2 separate regions of the Homo sapiens genome follow, and region 2 is linked to region 1. Evidence: promoter capture Hi-C in 16 types of primary human blood cells and fetal thymus (Javierre and others, 2016). All regions are on one chromosome and are shown on one strand. Each heading gives the region's core, a stretch centred on a gene start or on the middle of the fragment in contact. The rest is flanking DNA. Distances are from core to core; before and after follow the strand shown. Region 1 holds the start of NKD1-AS1 (NKD1 antisense RNA 1). Region 2 overlaps NKD1 (NKD inhibitor of Wnt signaling pathway 1).

Region 1 (7,179 bases), core at 2,186-4,685:
CACCCAGCCCAAGCTGCTGACAGCTGGCGCCACCCAAACAGCAAGAGAAGAAGGCCTGTGAAATAAAACAGACCTGTCCTCCTCAACAGTACAACAGGGTGAGCTCCTCGGGGCTCTTCCCCTTGGTCTGGGGTCACTTGAGGTCACTAGGAGACCGGATCCAAGAAGCAGGCTGTGCACTGTACAACCCCAGGTGGTGCCACTCATATGACCAATACCCTAGATATGTGTATTGCTTATGACATCCTTTGGACAGATGGCAGAAAGGTGTCTTGAGGAGGGGCAGCTTTTTTCTAATTTGCATGAATGCATCCGGAGCTAGTGGGGTGCTGTCTCCCGCCATTCAGTCTAGCACTTTATTCTGTACAGTCCTATCTGGGACCTTCTGATTGCTTCACAGGAGCCTCCACATCTGCACAGCCAGAAAGCAAGTTTCTTGAGATCTGGCGCCTTCTAGGCTTCTGCTCCCGGGTTGCCCAATGCCTAGCACTTCCCATACGTGCACAGGGCAGAGATTCCGCCAGGCCTGCTGAACTACAGCACATTCTACAGGTAGGCATAAGGAAGCTTGGCTACATAACAAATATGCCATACCTTCTGCCTTGATGGAGACTGGGAAGTGCCATGGGGAGGTGGGGAGTTGAAATTTACATAAAAATCCAAACCTGGGATGATACCAGTAAATGCCAGCTTATCTTAACACAATCCAGAAAGGCCTGGTGCATATGAAACTTGGAAAGAAGAGACAAATTTGAAACACAGTTATGACTAAATCAGCCCCACTAAAGACCAGAAATTACTAACAATTCAATTGCATGGCAGACCCCTCTCTTAGCCTAGTTACCTGGCAAGTTCTTCTCAGTGAATACAATGTAAGATTTAACACAAGCCAGAACTTCCTTGCTAGAGTCTGGATGCTCGCCCTGACATATCCACAGTCCTTTCTCAATCGTCCACGTACAGATTATCTGCTGCAAATATTTTAGTCTCAGGGTTGCTTGCCAAGATGTTTGAGTCCACAACCTTCTGACAGCAGCTGTTCGAGGGAATGCAGATGAATTTTAATATTAGCCTCTGCCAAATATAATTAGGCGGGTAAATCTGCTGCCAGTAAAAAGAGAAAGATATCATATGTGCATTCCAGGCCAAATGGTTTCTTGCAGTATCTGTATCAGGCTCTCCTTAGGGAATGAGGGTCCTAGCGATCCCACCTCTGTTTGTAAACACAGCCACATACTGTGGTGGGCTGCATGGAGAGGCTGGTGAAGTTAGTAGTACCACACATTATTCCATTAAGTCCTCTTAACACTGTGCAGGGTGTGCTACTGTTGGCATCGTACAAAAGAGGAAACTGAGCTTAAAAACCAAAACTGATTATGCCGTTTCCCTGCTTAAACCCCTCCAGTGGCCCCCTTTCCCCTAAGGAGGGGTCCAAAGGCTTCCACGACCCGGCTGCTGCCACCTCTCAGTCCCGTCTCTCTGTGGAACTGCTTTCCCTTTTCTGAGCCTGCCATGCTCTCACGCTGTTATCCCTGCCAAGAACACTCTTTCCAGCTCTGCAATTCCCACTCATCCTTCAGGTCTTCAGTTTAAGCCTCCCTTCCTCTGAGCAGCATGCTGTCACACCCTCAGGGCTAGGTTAGGCTTCCCTGCTCAGTGAGCCTTATTACACCATCATTATATCACTCATTTAATCATCAGAATCTTCCATCAGCCCAATATCTATACCCTGAGATATATATGTCTATAGTGCAGTGTCTATCACACTATAGGTGCTGCATCATCAGCAGCATCATCAAAATGAAACAACGGTAAGTAGCAGAACCAGGATTTGAACCCAGAAGTTGTGGAACAAAGAGAACTAAATCCCAGTTTCCCAACTCCTCAACCACTGGCCTGTCCACTCTCTCAGACCACAATAGCTGACACCTGTTCCTGCCTGTCCAGCAATCCTTCTCCTCCTTCTGATGATAGCATCTGGCTTTCCTCCCCAGAGCTACTCATCCCCCACTCTCAGTCTATCTAGTTTATGGAGACTGATCCCACTCCAGGGTCACACTGCACTCAGTACCCCTACCTGACCCAGCTTGTTTCATCCTGAAGGCCACGTGGCTGGTCCTAGGTCAGTATGAAAGAAGAGTTTATGAAGAAGCTAATGAAGCTAGGCTTCTGGGCCCTCTCACCTACACGGGCCCTTTCCAAGTCAGGATGGGTCTTTGCAAGGTGTTTATGTGGTCATATGTGTTTGTATTTGTAACATTTTCCAAATTAGGCATTTTATCCTCAATCTATTAAGATTGTCATCTAACCATTCTGACATCCTTTGCCTGTGTGAGGTGATACTAGGGGAAATACAGGCATTTCTGGACATGAGCTAAGGAGAGACTGAGTTGGTGAGATATTTATTTTGGTTTGGCCCCAGAAAGCTTCAGGTCCCATAAAACCTAGATCTACCCTGGTCAAGTGACCAGTAAAGTGGTCAATAAAGTGAGTCCAACATGTGCAAGAACCCCTGTGACCTGGGAACTTTCTTCCACCTGACAGGGCTGTGCTCATAGGATGGGAGTGCCCAGAGCTGGGAACTGCCACCCTTGCCCCCTGTGGGGGAGAAGCCACCAGGGGACAGAGGGAGAGATGATGGAGAGGGAGAGAGAGGGGCAGCGAGCGAGACATGTGTGTGAATGTGTGAGTATACGTGTGTGTGTGAGTGTGTGTGTGTGCGTGCATGTGTCCATGACATGGTTTTAGCTCCAGAATCCAAACAGGCCTTTTTAGGCAAGATCTACCCTAGGATTTTTCAATTTCATGAGCCAAAAGTTTAAGTGAGTTTCCAAAAGAACCGAAAGAATCCTGACTTAACAAATCCGTCTCTCTGAGATCCTGCTTTTTAGGAAAAACCACCAGCACCAGCACCACAGCAGTAATTCACTCACCCAGGGCAGTCCCTCTAGGGTGATTTCCAGCTTTTTCACCTGTGGGTGTCTGCCCCTTCCTGAGACCAGAAATGCCACCAGGGACTTCTTCTCCACCATCCTGCCTCCCAGCTGCATTTTACTGCCACTAGATTTTGCTTATGGACCAATTGTAACTGAGGGGAAACAAAAAAGGGGGAAAAGCGGGTAGGGGAGGAAATCCTTCTCAACAAATAACATTCTGGCCTTTTTTTCCTCATCAGAGCATAAGGCTGGTGGCCACTCGGCTTTGACATCTGAACAGGATTGAGACGAAACATCTGTTCAGGGAGGGAGGGGGAAGCCCCGGGAGAGAAGGGGAAAGGGGAGAAAAAGCCTTCTGTGGGCTAAAAATATCACGTCCCTTCCACTCTCCCCCGCCCGCCCCCACCCAAGTTAAAACATGTGATGAAATTCGGCTTTTACAATCTAACCCCGAGCTACTTGAAACTATTAAAGCCTCTCCGGTATCTGACACAAGTCAGAATTTCCACTGTTCCAGCTGAGCTTTTATGAGGAGCAGACTTGAGAGAAACTGCCAAGGTAACAAAGTCCGCTTGTTCTCTGTCACCGCTGCAACTCAGCTTCTGGGGGGACTGTAGGGGAGTGGAGAGTCAGGGCCGCTGACACCCCCCGACAGGACAGGCTCTGAACTGAGGGAGAGGAGCCGGCGGGGCATGGGCACCTGCCCCTCCATCTGGGGGTCCCTGCTGCCTTCCCATGAACTCCTCTTCCTCCCAGCCTTCCTGGGAAGCCACCGCCAGCCCTGTGTATTGAGGAGCCTTGCCCGAGAGTCCCGGGCAATGTCCGTGGCTACTTCCTGAGAAGTCTTGACTCGCTCTCTCTCTCTGTTTCTTGCCCAACTGCTCCTTGAACCCCAAGCTCCAATCACCAGGTATCCCACGGCCTCCTCGGTACCTCTCCTTGGATGTTAAATGGGCATCTTGAACCCAACTGGTCCAAAAACGGGAGGCTTGATGGTCACCCGCCAAAACCTCCACCTCAGAAGTGACACCGCCAAATCCTTAGTTCCTGAAACCAAAAGTCTAAGATGCATCCCTGATCTCTCTCGTTCCCTCAACCCCCTTCTCACCAGCTCCAACCTCCAGCCCCATGGACCTCTCCCCAGCCCCAAGCTCCCAGGCTAGGCCAGCACCATCTCCTCTCGCCTGCGACCCTGCAGTCACCTCCTGGTTTCATTGCCCTCTTCCTCCCTGCCCATGGGCAGTCCCTCCCAGAAGCCAGAATTAACTTCTTAAAACAGAGGTCAGAATCCAGCAGTCACCCACCCAACCATCTGGGCAGAACCACGCAACCTAAGGGCGTGGTCCCACACTTGCCGACCACCCCACTCTCATTCCTGATGCCACATCGGCCTCCTTTTTGTTCTTCCCCAAACACCAAGTTCCCTCCACTCTGGGGTTCTGCTCACTCATAGCTGCTCTCCCCCTACATTCTTCCATGGCTGGCTCCTTCCTGGCATCTGCATCTCAGCTGAAACATCACCTTCTCAGAAAAGCCTCCTCACTCTACCTCTCCCTGGGTTTTACGTCTTAGCAGAGAACCACTACTAGAAACTTCCATGCTCCTTCGCAGATTTATGTATTCATCCCTGCCTCCCTCCTGTGAATGTCGTGACTGCTGGGCCTGCCTACCTTGCTCGTGCCTGTGAACCCAGGGCCCAGCAGAGCCCCTAGCTGCAGCAAATGCCCAGCACATACTGAATGGTGAGGAGTGAGGGGCCAGATTCTGTTCTCAGTCTGCTGTGTGACCCTGGACAGGTCACTTCCCTCTCTGGGCTTCAGTTTTCCAACTACAGATGAAAGGAAGTACAGGCCTCCCAAGTTCCTTTGCCCAACATCTGACCCCTGGGAGCCTGGACAGACTGGCCCAGGCCCCAACACAGGTACACAGGTCCTGCCTGAGAGGCCGGAGGGAGGGGTCACCTGCTTTCAGTGAGGCAGAGGGAGAGGTCACCTGCTTTCAGTGACTACAGGGTATTGACTTTCCTTCTTCAGTGAGTGTTTATTTATTGAGCACATACAGCATGCCAGACCCTACTCCAGGCACCAGGAGTACGGGGAGGCCTTTGGAGATTCTAACAGGATTAAAGAAGCTTTGCAAAGAGGTCCTCTTTGATCTGGGCTAGGTAAATGATTATAAACACGGGCTGACACCTCTTCAAGAAAACTGAACCCAGGAAACAAGAATCATGGCAGCTCAAGTGTGCTGGGCACTTACTCTGTACCAGGGCCACCCTTGCGACCTACATCCATCACCTCATTGTCTTCACAATAACCCTGGCAAAGAAGTGCTACAAGGAACCCAGTGAGGAAGTTGAGCCACAGGGAAGTGACTCACCCAAGGTCACACAGTGAGTGTGGGTAAGCCAGGCTGGAATGGGGTCTGAGCTGCGAATTCACAGGAAGTCAGAATCAAGGGAGGAGAGATGAGGAAGGCAAAGTTAGGGACCATTGCAGAGCTGAACAGGCCCCGAGCTCCCCGAGTGCTGCTCAGCCCCCACCAGGCCTCAGTCTTAACACTGCTCCCTGCTGGGCAGAACCACCAACTCCAGGCACATCCACCCTTGGGCTGAGGAAGCAGAGACCACCCCACGGGCTGCCACATGCGCACGCCAGGCCAGTGGGGAGAGGGCAGCAGGGCCAAAGCAAGGCCTGCCCTGGAAGCTGGGAGGCCTGGGCCTGGTCCCGAGGAGGAGGGGCTGCCTGACTTCAGTGGCTCTGAGCATCTCCTTTAGGGAAGCTGCAGAGCAGCCTTCCTAAAGATGCCGGAGAGTGGAGAAATAGAAACCAGGCACTTGAGGATGCGGAGAGACAACGAGCAAAGGCCCAGAGATGAGACACAGAGATAGCCAAGAAGCTGGGCGGGGGCAGCGTTCACCAGGTGAGAGGCAGGGGGGACCTGGAGAGAGGGAGATGGGAGAGGGGGATGAAGCAGTGGCTGCAGCACCCTCAGACACAGTGACTCCTGGAGGCCATGCAGGGGAACGTGGCCTGGCCACCCATTCTCCCCGTGGGGCCCAAGCCGCAGGCTGCGACTACCTGGAGTCCTGCCCAGCTGTGGGGGCAGGGAGGCTGGGTGTGCGCTGAAGGTGAGCATGGGGTCACCCCTCCCTGGTCCTCAGACCTCAGCTGGGTCAGCTGAGGAGGGGTCCCTCTCCCCTTCTCCCCACGAAAGCCTCACCTCACCAGCCCTGCCACGCCCAGCCAGCTCTCAGAGCTTGAGACTTTTGATGTTTACTTTGTTCTTTCCCCAGTTCAAAAGGAGCTCTGCAGCCCTGGCCCACCAAGCCCAGCCTTAATCTCCCATCCCTCCCGCTCCCAGCTGGCCAGTTAAGGCGGTTAAGATGCTGGATTAGGGCCGGCTTTACATAACAACGCGGGAGCTAAAGCCATCCTCTCCTGGGATGGCTAAAAGACTTCTTTTTATCTTCACGCCTCAGATGGCCTTTTTTCTCTCTTAAACAGCTCTCCAGCCCGCCAAGAGGCAATGAACTTGGCCAACAGGAAGACAAAGAAGAGATTCAGGACTCGGCTTGTTCTCCCTTAGTCAGTAGCACAGAGGGACCCCTCAGTCCCAGGTCCAGAGCAGGCAGCTGGTTTTCTGTGGCCAGAACTCAGTAGCACCTGCTCTCACCAGACCTGGCCACGCGGTGGCCTACCATCCACACCATATCCCCCACCCTGGGGTGGGAGGCCTCGGGCCACAGGACCAAGGGTGCCAGAGGACCACAGATGGTCACTGGGCCCAGGGTCCCTCATGGGGTCTTAAGGGCCACACGGACAGGTCCAGATGCCCACCCGACTCAAACCAGAGCAGCTCCACTCCTACTGCCTTATTTACGGTTTTCACCTTTAAATACTGACATTAGTTTTTAATTTCATAAGGAATACATAATTGTGGTTTTTTGATTTTTTAAAAAATATAGTTTTTGAATTATTGATAATAGAGACAGGGTCTCACTATGTTGCCCAGGCTGGTCTTGAACTCATGAGCTCAAGCGATCCTCCAGCCTCAGCTTCCCAAAGTGCTGAGATTATAGGTTTGAGCCACCATGCCCAACTATGTTCTTATAAAAGTTTAACCATGAAATGCAGATAACACAGACTTAAGTCTCCTCCCATGTTTGGAAAGAGCTATGGTTATCATCTGTCTAGGCCTCTATCCACACAGTCATATGCATATGTGGTACCCTAAGAAACTCCTG
Region 2 (7,179 bases), core at 1,934-4,433, 54 kb after region 1:
GCTATTTAAGTTCACATTTAAATTCATTCAAATAAAATATATCTTAAAATTTAGGCAGTCTCTGAGTCCCAGTGGTCACATTCTAAGCCACAGGTTCCCAGAGGGGACAATGCAGACACAGAACATTTCCATCATCAGAAAGTTCTACTGGTCAGCACAGTCTAGAGGTCACTTCTACAGCCCCTTCTTCTACCCATTCTACGGCGGGGGGGGGGGGTGGTGGTGGGACCTAGCAGCCCTTTCAAGAGAGGCAGGTGTCAGTGACTGCCAGGGTAGCTCTAAATCCGCTTGCAAGTTTAAGCAGCCACAGTTATGGGGATGTGGGAAGAGGAGAGAGAACCATGGAGCGAGAGCTTGTCATGAGTGAGGGCCTGCACTGGCTTCTCTGTAGGGTCGCTCATTAGGTCCCGCTACACTACAAATGGGGAGTGCCCTCCTCCCCCCTCATCCCTCTCCAACTCCTGCACCCTCCTCTCTCCTTTCCTTCAGGGTCCAGTCGGCCCAGCTGTTGCCTAGTACAGAAAGGTTCTGACTCAGGCTCAGGAAACCCCAAGGAGTCTACATTTTGAATAGCACCCAAGAGATTCAGATGTAGGTGGTCCTCGGCCGCATCGAGTCTCCCCAACTCCACACCCTCTGGCTGCTGTCTTCTCTCTCCACTCCTTCTGATAAAGCTTCTCCATACAGTTGCCTACACATGCTGTTTCCTCATCTGTCATTCACTTTTAAAATACATCACCTTTTTGAAAAATACAAAAAGTAGCACATGCTCATTTTTTGTAAAATCAAACAACCTAAAAATGTACAAAATGAAAAGCAAAATTCTCCATTCCTCAGGGAAATAGTCCTTGACAGTGTACCCTTCCAGATCTTTCTCTATGCACCTGCAGATACACAGTGACACAGGCCTGAATAGACTTTTTCACACTGTAAGAAACAGGACCATGGCCTATGAATGTTTTGCAGTTGCTTTGCTCATTCAGCAGCGTCTCAGGGTCTCTTTCCTGTCAGCAAGAGAGGCCCTTACTCGCTGGGCTTTGACCAGTTGCAGAGAGCTCAATGAGAAGTCCACACCACTGTTACCTTGTACCCTAGTGATGGATGTTTGAGTTGTCAAAAACTTTTCATTCTTCCAAATGCAGCCATGAATGTTCTTGTAAGTATGTGCTTCTGCTCCCCTGCACATATTTCTTAGTCCCTTCGTGAGCCACCCAAGTCTCACCTCTGCTGTCACTTCACCAAGACAGTTCCTGCCAGACCCAACTGTGACCGCCAGGATCCTAAACCCAAGGGACACGTCTCAGTCCTTTTCTATAACTCCACTCTCTCTGCAAGAGACCACCTACTCTCCGGTAGACTGTGTGGATGGCCCCCAGTGAATCCCACTTCCCAGTATTTATGCCCCTGTGTAGTTCCTTCCCCTAAATCTAGGCTGGACCTGTGACTTGCTTTAATGAAGAGAATGTGTTGTTGCTAATTCCAGGCCTAAACCTTAAAGAGTCCTGGCCGTTTTTGCTTCTATACTCTTGGGAAAGACAGCCACCATGTAAATCTGATTACCCTGAGACTGCCATACTGTGAGGAAGCCCAAGCTACTCATGAGGTGAGGCCAACTAGAAGAGAACTGAAGCCCCAGACATGTCACTTATTTGGAGCTGCTGCAGTCAGACCCTTGCTGTTAGAGCCACCCTAACTGTGCTACATGGAGCCACAGACAAGTTGACCCTCCCAGGCTTGGTCCAAAGTGCATACTCTTAAGCAAGTCACAAAGTGATCAAGTCACTAATCTTTGGACTTTTTTTTTTTTTTTACAGCAGTAGAAACAAAGCCTTCTCCTTTCCTTTAATGCATTTTTGAGAGGAGGAAGCAGAAGGCAGGAGAGGTCATAATAGATACCTCATAGCTAAGCTGGAGGCACCCCCAGGCTCAGGGTTCCCAGCGCAGCATTGTGTCCAACCCCTGATGACTGAGCCATGTCTGTGTTTCTCCTGGGATGAAGCTGCTGCTGTTGGCTTCTCAGGGGAGAAGCCATGGGCCCCCCCTCCATGGGACTGCTCATCCTCTTCATTCCCTAAGCAAAGGGAGTGAGCCAGCAGCAAGCACCCACAGCATCCCTGGGAGCACTGACCCAGGCCCAAAAGTCAACAAACCAAACAGCTCAGAAAGCACAGAGAGGTCAGGAAAGTTGCCCTAGGTCACACTGCTAGTGAGAAGTAGAGCCAGGGCTCAAAACCAGGCATTCAGGCTCAGGGCCTGCACCAGTGACCCACACCAGCGTTTTTCTAATACTCTGATTATGACCTATAGTAAGAATTATATTTTACAATATGCCTCTGCTGTAGATAGATAGATAGATAGATAGATAGATAGATAGATAGATGGGTTTGGGTATAGGTGTGTGTAAAGTGTGTGTATACATTTTTTTTAACTAGAACAAAAAATTACACAAAACAATATTTACTCTTACTATATATAATGTTTTCTCATATTTTTACTCTATTTCATTTTGGTCACTAAATTGATGTCATGAACCATGAATGGGGCTGAGACATACAGTTGAAAAAAAAAAAAAAACTCGCCTAAACTGATTTAAGATGGCTCTAAAATCACACTGAGTGATCTGAATTTGAATCTTGCTGAAGCAAGATTCCACTTCCAAGTTAAGTGACCTTGGGCAATATGGTTGACTTCTTTAAAGCCTCAGTTTCCCTATGGGTAAGATGGGCATAATAATAACAGCGGCCTCATAACAGTGCTCTGAGAATCCAGCACTATGAACAGTGCTTGGCCCAGAGCCTGGCACACAGCAGACACGCAGCAAGCAGCAGCTACGCTGTTACCACCTCCTCCTCGGGCTGCAGCTCCCAGACTCAGCACGGGGCTATGCACACAGTGGGCAGCTCGCGGGCACACTGAGCCTGCAGCCACTGAGAAAGCAGGCACGTGCCCAGGACCAGCTGAGGCAGTGGGTGCCTTTGGACTTTCCAGGGCAGGGAGGAAGCAGAGAAAGTCCCCAGTGCCCGCTGAAAAGGCAACTTTGTTCCTGGATTATAGTAGTTCTCTTCAATCATCTTTTTGCCTTTGAAGGGGGAAAGAAGGGTAAAACAACAAAGTCAGGGTCAAAAACTGTCCTGGAACAAGGCTCCCTCTGGAAACCAGGCATGGAATGGGCATGGCACCACACACCAGCACCCCCAAACCCACTCACTGGAGCCACCGCAAGCCGAGGCCTCTGAGTGAGGGGCCCACCAGCCCACGCAGCCTTCTGAAGTTAGAAAAACATCCTCCGGCCTGAGCCCATTAGGGAGGCTGTGGCCTGAGGGAAGACAGCCCCATCCTGCTAACAGGGTCCTTTTATGCTCTGCCTCTCCCCTCCTCAGGACCCCAGCTCTATGCTCAAGGCCAGAAGGCTTGGGCAGCCCAGCAGGCCAGCCAATCCGCTCCAGGGTGACACTATTTCTTGTGACTGAGAGGTTCTCCTCCCTACCTCTTCCAACCTGACCAGAAAGCTGGAGTCCACAGACACCAGTAACACTTCATGGAAGACTTGCGGCAAGGAGACAAGGCCTCATGACGGGATGCAACATACAGTGGTACCACCCAGCCCAGCAGGCACTGCCCACTCCCTGCTGCTGCACCACATAGTTCTGCTCTAACACCTCAGAGACTGGAATGTGGTTCCAAGTCAGACACCGAGAAGGAGGCTGAACACTTTCTCTGTGCACCAACCCTGCATGCCTCTTGCCCTTTGCACATCCCGTGCCTTCTGCCTGGAATATTTTTAATAAACCTTTCCCCACCTAGCTATTTCCTATTTATTCTTTGGGTCTTAACGACTTACGCATCACTCCCTAATCTGAAGTAGAATCCTCCGTTATTCTCCTTCCCCATCCTTTTCCTTCACTGCACTTAGCACACTGGTACCACACTGAGCACACATCCAGGTGATCACTAGCAAACAACACTGGCAAGCTGCAAAAGAAGGGGTGACATCTCCTTTATTCTTTAACTTGCTGAAATGAACCCATTTCTACCCTTAAAACAACCCAATGAGGTAGGAACCATTACTCTACCCATTCCACAGATGTGAAAACTGAGAATCAGAGATGAGCCATCACTTGGCCCAAGGCCACCGAGCTGGGGAGAAGTGCAGCTGGGACTCAGACCCAGGAAGTCTGATTCTGCAAGTTCTAAGCACACCTCTGGCACCTTCTATGGGCACATGCTGGTCTTCAGCATAAAGTCTCCCAGCCCACATCTTTGTTTTGTTGTTTGTTTGTTTGTTTGTTTGTTTGAGACAGAGTTTCACTCTTGTCACCCAGGCTGGAGTGCAATGGCACGATCTTGGCTCACTGCAACCTCCATCTCCCGGGTTCAAGGAATTCTCCTGCTTCAGCCTCCCAAGTAGCTGGGATTACAGGTGCCTGCCACCATGCCCGGCTATTTTTTTTTTCTTTCTTTTCTTTCTTTTTTTTTTTTTTTTTGTATTTTTAGCAGAGACGGGGTTTCGTCATGTTGGCCAGGCTGGTCTCAAACTCCTGACCTCAGGTGATCCACCAACCTCGGCCTCCACCAACCTCGGCCTCCCATCCCAGCCCACATCTTTACTTACCCTTCCTGTGCCTCCCACATTGCTCTCCCACCAGACTGAAATACACTGTGCACAGCTTCCTGGCAATGAGCCTTTGCTTGGCCTGCACTCTCTGCCTTGGATGCAGCCTGCATCCAGCTCTCCCTGGCTGGGCTAGTGACTCTAATTTGCTGGGCCTGCCTCCTCATCTATGCGATAGCGGAATAATACCTAAGGCAGTTGTGAGGATTCTACAAGAGAATGCATGGAAAGTATTAGGCACAATGTTGAGTCCATATGATACTCACTCGTGTGTCCTTTTATCACTAACATACTGCTTCTCTACCACCACCACCATCAGAATCTTAAAGGTCTAAATCAGCAAACACAAGCCAGTGTACTAACAGGCCAAATCCAGTCGTCTGAGTCACCCAAAGAAGGTGTTTTCTAAAAATTTTAATTGGTTAACAATAATTTTTTAAATTGGAAAAGTTTCACATAAAAATTCAGACAGCTGGATTTTCTTAATGATCAGCCCGTGTGGCAACACCAGGGCCATATTCCCACATGGCAGTGATTGGCTGGGGTTGAGTGGCACTGCCCCCTTGAGGCAGGGTGTGTGTTCCCCGGGGGCACCCCGGTTCCCACCCCTCTCAGATGTCTCCCACTGAGCCTGTGGCATTCATTCATATGACCTCTCTGGCCCCTGTAGGTCCTTAAGTTTCTAACCCCTGATCTCAGTCTTACCATTCTTCAAATCCCTACTCACATGCCCACTTCCTTCAAAAAAACCCTCCCCAACCTCCACAGCCCTGTGCTTCCCTTATGGTTTTATAACTTTAACAGTTAACTTGCACTGAGTACTTCATGCAAAGATCCAAAGTAAAATATTAGCCTATCAAATGCGGTCACATTTAAAAGAATAATCTATCATGACAAAGAATTTCGGAGGGCCAAGAAGGTTGCACTAGGAAATCCAGCAATGTAAATCAAGCATACAAATCACACACCACATTAGCAAAGAATGATGCATTCCATCTGCATCCCAACAGCATGTGACAAAATTCAATAATTATTCCTGATTTTACAAAGCTCAGAAAGCCAGGAGTTGAAGGAAGCTTTCTTAAACAAAAAGTATCATACTTGGTAGTTATTAAACAGAGTATGAGATTCTAACCAATGCAATGAGATTCTAACCAATGCAATAAGAGAAGAAAAATCGATGAAAGGCCATGGGGAGAGCTTAGTTCCACTCTCACAGAGGCAAGAACTATGTCCTAGTCCTCACAATTTCCACAACACCCTAAGCACAGCACGTGGGATAGATAAAGCAGTCAAATATTTGTGGAATGAAAAACACCCCAGATGAGTTCTGATCCCTGGTACATGTTCTCAAAACATCCAGTACTTTTTGGAGGCACATATCACAACTTAAATTGCACAACTTGTTTATGAAAATATTTCTGTTTTCCTACAAGATGGTAAGTTCCATGAAATCAAGGCCTTCACTCTAGGTACCAAGCACAGGTGTCCCTGGCCTAAAGCAGGTACTCAATGCCCACTCCAAGAGACATGAGGGCCTACTGGAGGGTGCAGGGTGGGAGGAGGCTGAAGATCTAAAACTACCTGTTGGGTACTGTGCTTATTACCTGGGGGATGAAATAACCTGCACACGAAACTCCCATGACACACAATTTACCTGTAGAACAAACCTGTACATGTACCTTGAACCTAAAATAAAAGTTAAAAAATATATATAAGGCTGGGCACAGTGGTTCACGCCTGCAATCCCAGCACTTTGGGAGGCCAAGGCAGGAGGATCATTTGAGGCCAGGAGTTTAAGGCCAGCCTGGGCAACACAGTGAGTCCCTGTCTCTAAATTTAAAAAAAAAAAAAAAAAAAAAACCCTACTGCAGATGCATGAATGAATGCACTCAATAGATAGTGCTAAATTATCATGATGTTATTCTACTTCTCAGCTGGAGAATCTGAAGCCCAGGCAGGGAGCCTTTGGCTGAGGCCACACCAATGTGAAGCCCTCTCAGTACCCTGGTGTCCTCTGAAAGGCGTCGGCCACACGCACACGCCACAGCCCATGTGACTTAACAAGTAAGGAAAGCAAAGCCCAGACCCATGCCTCAGAGCCCTCTAAACAAACACATCCAGGACCCACCCCGGCGGGCCAAGCCGCCACCGCTCTGAGGCTGGGGATGACTTCAGTGCGGAGACCTGAGGCTTTCCTCCCAGAGCCCCACGACTGGTGCCCACAAGGCTAAACAGCTCCCTTCTGCCTTCCCAGGAAGCTATCAAAGAATTACTTATGTCTCTGGAAGTGCTTGTTTAGAAAAGGTTCTCCACCCCACCTGGGCTTGGCAGGAGCGCAGCATCACCAGGCTGCCCTTCGGAGCTGCTCAGGCTTGCCTCCAGCCCCTGGAGGAGCTCAGCCATCTTTCACACAGAGAGTCGAAGCCATGAAGCAGCGGGAAGCTTCCCAGGATAAACGGAGCAGGGTGACATCAAAGTCCTCCTTCCAGATTAAACAACTGAGGCCTTCAACTCTCGCTTGCGTTCCTTCCAGGATATTCTGGGCTCCTGCCTCAGTTCTCCCT

Evidence for each region. The method cuts DNA at HindIII sites, captures the fragments that hold promoters and counts their contacts. A CHiCAGO score of 5 or more calls a contact.
Region 2: a fragment that was not itself captured here is called in contact with the fragment with the promoter of NKD1-AS1 in region 1 in 7 of 17 cell types (non-activated CD4 T cells, total CD8 T cells, total CD4 T cells and 4 more); the score reaches 7.6 in non-activated CD4 T cells.

Annotation. Positions count from the first base shown.
Region 1 is chr16:50,609,906-50,617,084 of GRCh38, reverse strand. It overlaps NKD1-AS1 (NKD1 antisense RNA 1), which reads left to right and starts at 3,435. Exons shown (of 3, transcript XR_007065197.1): 1 at 3,435-3,494. The region is part of intron 4 of NKD1 (NKD inhibitor of Wnt signaling pathway 1); the gene reads right to left. RefSeq lists an enhancer at 6,216-7,179. The HindIII fragment of the contact is 2,641 bases long and covers 2,429-5,069 here.
Region 2 is chr16:50,556,025-50,563,203 of GRCh38, reverse strand. The region is part of intron 3 of NKD1 (NKD inhibitor of Wnt signaling pathway 1); the gene reads right to left. Among named protein-coding and RNA genes, the nearest start is that of NKD1, 11 kb to the right of the region's middle. The HindIII fragment of the contact is 5,014 bases long and covers 677-5,690 here.